Regions from separate parts of the Homo sapiens genome. Here region 2 is linked to region 1. The links are contacts of gene promoters, found by promoter capture Hi-C in human tissues and cell types (Jung and others, 2019). All regions are on one chromosome and are shown on one strand. Each heading gives the region's core, a stretch centred on a gene start or on the middle of the fragment in contact. The rest is flanking DNA. Distances are from core to core; before and after follow the strand shown.

Region 1 (4,158 bases), core at 7-2,506:
GCTGTCCCCAACCTTGCCCTCGGTTCCACTACCAAAAGAGGGAACACTGGGCTTGCCCCAGCAAGGTGTTATTTATGTCAGGCTAGGGCCACTGTGGCTCCCAGCTCTTACTGCTTTCTAGGTGCCCTTACAGACTTCCCCACTGCCCCCTGCATATGCCAGAGTGTGAACATCCCCTCCCTCTCCACAGCCCCCACAGTGGGGTTCGGGTGGGCAGGGAGGTGGTTTCATCCCTCTACATACAGCCCTTGGAGACCTACCTAGGCAATTTGTCACTCAGGCTTCAAGCTGCCAGCCGAGGAGGGGAGCTGAGAAGACTCTATAATGAGATCTTTGCACTGTAATTAAGTGCCAGGCTTTGTTTTACACCTATCTTTCCCGCCTTGCCCGATCCCACCGCCAAGCTCCTCCAGGCAGTGAGTGGGGAGTGTCAGCTGCTCTGTGATTACACCCCAAGTGGCAGGTGGCAGGGAGCTCCTCCGCCTGCAGTCTGCGCCCCACCCCCAGGCTTCCCCCACCACCAGTCTTAACTCAAGACAGTGCTATTTCTGTCCTTGAACTGGGTTTCACCCCAGAAAGCCACTCCACCGCTTTCTCATAAGGCTACCTCCTTTTAACCCTGTGGTTGCACGGCCTCTGGGGTGTCCATTTCTTTCTTTTGACACGTCCCTTTTCCTGAAAGTTTCAGCAAACCCCATAGGCAGAGGGAGTTAGAAAAAGGAAAAGAGAAGTTAGGGCAGGAGGAGCACTGTTCTTATAGGACAGGAAGGGTCTGTCTTCTCTCTTGGGTCCTCCACACAAAATCGGAGCTTCCAAACACCCCAGCTCCCAAACATATGCAGCAGATTCTGCTGACAGGAATGTGTCACTGTGATCTTCACATTTTAGCCTGAAGTTTAGCCTACCTGAAGAAGCACCGGAGTGGGAGTGGGAGAACATGGGATGGTGCTTCTCTTTGGCCTGGCTGTGCTTTTGGACACTTCAGGTCTTCGGCCTGGGTTTCCTCCTCCGTACGATGAGGAGAGGATGGGAGGGGGCAATGCTGGCATGTGTGATCTCGATAGACACTGTGGAAGTCTGCAGAGACCGGAGCATAACCTCTGCCTCCTCTCCCCGGGCCTAGCCTCTCACAGCCCTCAGAGAAAACCCTGAGCTGCGGCGTGGCCGAGACGGGGGCGTGGCCTGGCAGGTGGGCGGGCCCTTCCGTGGGCGGGGCCGCGAGGTTTTCAGGAGCCCGAGCGAGGGCGCCGCTTTTGCGTCCGGGAGGAGCCAACCGTGGCGCAGGCGGCGCGGGGAGGCGTCCCAGAGGTGAGCGCCCTGCAGCGGCAGGGGATGGGCCGGGGGCCCTAAGTCGTAGGCAGCGCGGGGCGGGGACGCGGCTGCCTGCGGAGGTCGGACTCCTCTCCGCCCTCCTCCCGGGCTGTCCGGGTCTATTTTCCAGTCTATGTCCAACTCGCGCCGCCTCACTAGGCGGCGCTCTCTGCCCCGCGGCACCCGCGAGACGTGGGGTCCCTCGGCCCAGGGACGGGGTGAGCGTGTCATGTGGGTGCCCTGTGCCCGGCAGGTTGGAGACGAAGAGACCTCGGCACAGACGAAGTCACTCACATCCTCGCTTTGAAACAGAGCGGGTCCTTCTTGTGCTGTCTCGCTGTCACTCTCGCCCCCACCCTGTGGAAGAGGCAGGTGGCTTGTCCCCAGTCACTTTCTTCCTTGGAAAAGGGAGACAGAGGGCCATCTCCAGCAGGGCCATGGAAATCCCAGAAAGTCACTGAGCTGCTCAACAAAAGGCCCTAAACACCCCACCCCACAGCACCAGGCAGTGCACACTGGCCAAGACTCCGTGGTAAATATTGCTGGCCTTTATGTTGAGAGGGGGAAAAAAAAGCCTGCCTGTGAAGATCATTGCCCAGTGGCCATGCTCCTGTGAAAACACAATTGGAAAGCCATTTCCTAAGGGGCGAGGGTGGGTCTGGGACCATGCTGTGGCTTGGGTGATTGGTGGTTGCAGGAGTGAGGGTGCTGCCCTGGGAAGGCGCTGAGGCCCTGTTGGGTGGGAATCGACGGCTGCGGCTTTCTCCCGGAGGAGGGAGAGCGGTGTTGTTACCTAGTGTTGGGAACACATCCGTCCAGCACCGTGAACTGCAAACAAGCAGAGTAACCCTAGTGTCCTTCAGATACTGTTGCTGAGCAGTCACCTAGTCAATGAGATGATCTGTTTGGACGGCAAGTGCATCTGTAATGCCGCCCTCTTGCTCAGTGCCTGGAAGAGGCATTGGTGACTCCCCGCTAATGCTAGGGGTAGCTACCGTGCAGGAGCAGTCAGGCTCTTGCAGGGCCAATGTGGTTTCATCAATTTTCTCCTGCATTTACCCAGCCCCTCCGAATTCTGAGAAGTGCGTCCAAGATCTCTTGGACTCCTTGACTCAGTTCACCCTTGTTCTTGTGGGCAGAAAACAATTCCCAGTGTGCCATGCACAGCCAGTCAGAAGGGAAGCCCTGGAGCAGGGCCCTGGGAGAAGTTCTGTGGGGCTGGATGCTAATTATTCAGTTACTGGATTGTGGGGAAATTCCAGGGGAGGTCCCAGAGGAGAGACCGTGCTAAAGCTAATTACTAAGCAGTACAAAAATAATCTCTCTCTCTCTCTTTCTCTCTCTCTCTCTCTCTCTCTCTCTCTCTCTCTATATATATATATATATATATATATATATATATATATATGTAATTTTTTTTTTGAGACAGTCTCACTCTGCCGCCCAGGCTGGACTGCAGTGACACAATCTCGGCTGACTGCAACCACTGCCTCCAGGGTTCAAGCGATTCTCTTGCCTCAGCCTCCCAAGTAGCTGGGATTACAGGTACCCACCACTACGCCTGTCTAATTTTTGTATTTTTAGTAGAAATGGGGTTTCACCATGTTGGTCGGGCTGATCTCAAACTCCTGACCTCAGGTGATCCGCCTGTCTTGGCCTCCCACAGTGCTGGCATTACAGGTGTGAGCCACTGTGCTGGGCCAAAAATAATCTAAATTTCAACAATCAGCATGACCATGCCTGTGCGTATGACCCTAATTATCAGTCTGACTGATTCTTCCTTCCAAAATGATGGCAGAGGATCACCTCTTTGGATATTTACAGCTCTGAGCAAAGCAAAAAGCATGTAGGTGCCATTGTCTGAATGCAAAACCAGCCATGCCAGGTTTTCGGTGTTGTTTCTGAGGAGGGAGCGCCTCTCTGGAGGACGGTGTTTCCAGAACAGTGCCTCCGTTGTTCATTCCCGTGCATCAGGAAGTTTGGCTCTGCTGAGTGTTGAAAGCAAAACTCTCCTGTTTATTTGTCTCTGTATACTAACAGACTTAAACAGCAGACAGCACTGGAATGTCCAGTTACTGCATCCAGATGTGTTTGTTTCACTCTTAACATTGTGGAAAAGAATGCAGAAGGCAGATCCAAAGCTTCAATCAGATTTCTGAAGCTTAAGTGATTCCCAGCCTTGGTCCCTTAATGTGAGAGCAACAGCGTATAGTGTCTTCCGCTCTCTGGGACAAACCCAAGTTTGAGGCATAGTCCCTGCTGTCCAAAAGCTCCTAGGTCTAAGTAGGAAGACAAAACCAGCACCTGTGAAACAATTAGAGCGCAATTAAGTGCGAAAGTATGTGGCAGCATCTGCTAGCTCAAAGAAGACAGCTAGTGCAGACTGACTGGGAAAGGAAGAGAGAGCTTCACAGAGCCAGCTGGTGTTCAGCTTGACTTAAGAATGACCATCAAGGGCTTGGCCAGGCCTAGGAAAGGAAGCATGAGGATATATGAAGCTCAGAATAATGAAAGGCACTTGCTGCCCAGAGCCAATTCAAATTCCTGCCTTCCGGGAATTCTGGCTGTGGGTCCTGCCACTCTCTTCCTCACCCAGCCATGATGCCCTTCTTATAGCATTCTAACCATGCCTTTTTTTTTTTTTTTGAGACAGAGTCTCACTCTGTCACCTAGGCTGGAGTGCATTTGTGTGATCTTGGCTCACTGCAACCTCTGCCTCCTGGGTTTAAGTAATTCTCCTGCCTCAGCCTCCCAAGTAGCTGAGACTACAGTCACGTACCACCATGCTCAGCTAATTTTTGTATTTTTAGCAGAGATGGGATTTCACCATGTTGGCCAGGCTGGTCT
Region 2 (4,133 bases), core at 1,120-3,619, 360 kb after region 1:
AATTTTCTAAAATTCTTCCTATTGTCAATTTTTAGTTTTGTAACATTTCGATCAGAAAAGATACTTGATATGATTTCAATCTTCTTAGATTTAAGACTGGTTTTGTGGCCCAACGTGTGATCTACCCTGGAGTAGGTACTGTGTGCTCCTGAGAAGAATGTGTGTTTGCTTCTGTTGAATGGATTGTTCTGTCTATGTTTGGTAGGTTGATTTGTCTATAGTTTTATTCACATCTGCTATTTCATTACTAATCTTCTCTCTAGATGATCTATCCATTGTTGAATGTGGGTGATTGAAGTCCCTTATTATTATTGCATTGCTGTCTGTTTCTCTTTCTAGTTCTGTTAATATTTGCTTTACATATTTAGGTGCTCCAATGTTAGGTGCATATGTATTTACAATTGTTATACCCTCCTGATGAATTGACCTCTTATCATCATATTGTGATCTTCTTTGTCTTTTGTGACAGATTTTGTTTATTTTTTATTTATTTGTTTTTTTCAAGATAACGTCTGGCTCTGTTGCCAAGGCTGGAGTGCAGTGGCATAATCTTGGTTCACTGCAACCTCTGCCTCCTGGGCTTAAGCCATCCTCCCACCTCAGCCTCTCAAGTAGCTGGGACTACAGGCACACACCAACATGCCTGGCTAATTTTTGTATTTTTTGTAGAGATGGAGTTTTGCCATGTTGCTCAGGCTGGTCTTGAACTCATGTGCTCGAGTGAACCGCTCACCTAAGCCTCCCAAAGTGCTAGCATTCAAGGCATGAGCCACAGCACCTGACCTCTTGTGACAGATTTTGACTAAAAGTCTAGTTTGTTTAATATAAATATAGCTACCCCTGCTCTCTTTTGGTTTCCGTTTGCATGGAGTATCTCTTTCCACCCCTACACTTTCAGTCTGTGTGCCCTTGAGACTAAAATGAATCTCTTGTAGTTAGCATATTATTGGATCTTGTTTATTAATCCATTCGGCCTCTCTGTGTCTTTTGATTAGCAAATGTAATCCATTTATATTTAGAGTAATTATTAATAAGTAAGGGCATACTGTTGCCATTTTGTTAATTGTTTTCTGACTGTTTTGGATATGTCAACAAAAGCACTAGCGACAAAAGCAAAAATAAACATATGGGACTATATCAAACTGAAAAGCTACTGAACAGCAAATGAAATAATCAACACAATGAAAATGCAACCTGTGAAATGGGAGAAAACATATGCAAACTATATATCTGATAAAGGGTTAATATCAAAATGTACAACAAACTCCATAGCAAAAAAATAAGTAACCCAATTAAAAAATGGGCAAAAGACCTAAATAGGCATTTTTCCAAAGATGACACACAGATTGCCAACAGATATATAAAGAAGTGCTCAAAATCACTAATCACCAGAGAATTCTAATTAAAACCACAATGAGATATCACCTCACATCTCTTAGGATGGCTATTATCAAAAAGAAAAAAGATAACAAGTGTTGACAAGGGCATGAAGAAAAGGGAACCTTGTATACTGTTGGTGGAAATACCAATTGGTACAACTATTATGGAAAACAGTATGGAGGTTCCTCAAAAAATTAAAAATAGAACTACCATATGATCAAGCAATCCCACTTCTGGGTATATATCCAAATGAAATGAAATCAGTATCTTGAAGAGATATCTATATCCCCATATTCGTTGCAGCATTATTCACGATGGCCAAGATATGGAAACAACCTAAGTGCCCATTGACAGATGAATGAGTAAATAAAATGTGTTAGATACAATGAAAGATTATTCAGCCATAAAAAAAAATCCTGTCATTTGTGACAGCATTGATAAACCTAAAGGATATTATTCTAAGTGAAATAAGCTGGACACAGAAAGACAAATACTGTATGACCTCACTTGTATGTGGAATCTCAAAAAGTTGAACTCAGGGGCAGAAAGTAGAATGGTGGTTGCTAGGAGTTCGAAGTGGAAAAAATGGAGAGATGATGGTCAAAGAGTACAAACTTTCAGTTTTAAGATGATAAAGTTCTGGGGATCCAATGTATAGCATAGGTGGTAATAGATGGGTTAATTTGATTGTCCATATCACAATGTATATGCATATGCCTCATCACATTGTACACCTTGAGTATATACAATATTTGTCAATTAAATATTTTAAAATAAAAGAAAAAAGAAAAATCATAATTTATTTTAGAACTATATCTCAGTATTTAAATTAGTATCCTCGTATATTTTTTATCGTTCCTACTAAATAGAAAATCATAGCCTGGCGTGGTGGCTCACACCTGTAATCCCAGCAGTTTGGGAGTCTGAGGTGGGTGGATCACTTGAGGTCAGGAGTTTGAGACCAGCCTGGTCAACATGGTGTAACCCTGTCTCTACTAAAAATACAAAAATTAGCCAGGCGTGGTGGCATGCACCTGTAGTCCCAACTACTCAGGAGGCTGAGGCACAAGAATCGCTTGAACCCGGGAGGAGGAGGTTGCAGTGAGCCGAGATAGCACCACTGCACTCCAGCCTGGGCGACACAGCGAGACTCTGTTAAAAAAAAAAATCAGTAATCATGTGGTAAATAATAATAATAATAATTATTATAAAAGAACAGGGAAATTCTTTAGTCTCCTTTTGTTTCCTATTACTCCTCTCCTCTGCCAAAATTTACAATCTGTTATCTATTCTTTCATGCTTCATTTGTATTCATACAATCACGTATAAACTATATATAATAAGCTTTTCTTTTCTAATTCATGTGTATTTTACAAAAATGGGATCATATTATCTGTATTCCTTTGTGTCTAGTTTTTTTTACTTTTTTTTTTCTCTTGATACATTATGGAATTTCCCTCAGTGGTATACATCCAACTCATTCTTTTTTTTTTTTTTGAGACGGGTTTTCCCTGTCACCCAGGCTGGAGTGCAGTGGTGCAATCACGGCTCACTGCAGCCTTGACCACCTAGGCTCAAGCAATCCTCCTATCTTAGCCTCCTGAGCCACCACACCTGGCTAATTTTTAAATTTTTTTGTAGGTACGGGATCTCCTTATGTGGTCCAGGCTGGTCTCAAACTCCTGGGCTCAAGCAATCCTACTGCCTTGGCCTCCCAAAGTGCTGGGATTACAGGAGTGAGCCATCATGCCCTGCTGCAACTCGTTCTTTTCAATAATTAACTTATATTCCATGGCTTAATTGTATCACAGTTTCTTCCACCATATTGAAAGGCATTTACTCAGTTTCTAATTTTTTGCTGCAACAAACAACGCTATGGTAAACATCTTTGCATGTATATTTTTACATATTGGAATTTCACTTATAGCAGATAGATTTCCAGAAGGATTTCTCCATCAGAGTATGTAAATTGTAAAATTTAAAATATATATCTGGATTGCTTTCCATAAAAGCTGTAACAATCCAAATTTCCCCTGGCAATATATGCACAGAATAGGTTTTTTTCACATTTTCATCAATAGTAAGTTTTTATTGTCTGCTAATTTGGTAGATAAGTTGAGACATCTCATTGTTACTTTAATTTGCATTTTCTCCACATTAGAAAATATTTTCATTGGTTTATTGACCATTTGCATTTCTCTTCTATAAATTGACTTTTTATATTTATTTGTCTCTATTTCTGTATTCTGTTGATAGTCAATTTATAGGAACCTTCTGACAGATATGCATATTCATTTTATGTGTGAGTTATTTTTGTGGCACATACTTTTTATCAATCTTTTTGTCTTGTGATTTTGTTTTTATTTTGCCATATAACATTTTATATTTTATATCATCGAATATATTTATTTTATATTTTATTGCCTCTAGGCTCTTGTCTTGATTAAAAAGGTTTCTCTCTCCAAACCCTAGCTTACACATATATTCTTTTAAAATTGTTCTATAGTTTTTGTTTACATATAGAGTTTAAGTTTTTCTGGAAATTTATTTTTGTATATGGTGTGAAGCAGGGATCCCAATTTTATTCTTCTCTAGGCCAGTTGTGTCATAACCAATTTAAAATAAACCATAGTTTTCCCATTAACTTGAAATAGCACTTTTGGCATACAGCCATGCATTGCTTAACAATGGGAATACGTTCTGAGAAATGCATCATTAGGTGATTCTGCCTTTGAGTAAACATCATAGAGTGC

Evidence for each region. Contacts are between HindIII fragments. The study calls those that stand out against the background at their distance.
Region 2: a contact is called between a fragment that was not itself captured here and the fragment with the promoter of TLR5 in region 1, in 2 of the 25 tissues and cell types used here (mesendoderm cells and thymus).

The regions. Positions count from the first base shown.
Region 1 is chr1:223,140,346-223,144,503 of GRCh38, reverse strand. It overlaps TLR5 (toll like receptor 5), which reads left to right and starts at 1,256. Exons shown (of 6, transcript NM_003268.6): 1 at 1,256-1,308; 2 at 2,741-2,856. It overlaps LOC124904522 (a long non-coding RNA gene), which reads right to left and starts at 1,149. Exons shown (of 2, transcript XR_007066895.1): 1 at 906-1,149. RefSeq lists a silencer at 1,098-1,467. The HindIII fragment of the contact is 6,140 bases long and covers 1-4,158 here.
Region 2 is chr1:222,778,147-222,782,279 of GRCh38, reverse strand. No RefSeq gene overlaps it. Among named protein-coding and RNA genes, the nearest start is that of DISP1, 35 kb to the left of the region's middle. The HindIII fragment of the contact is 7,196 bases long and covers 1-4,133 here.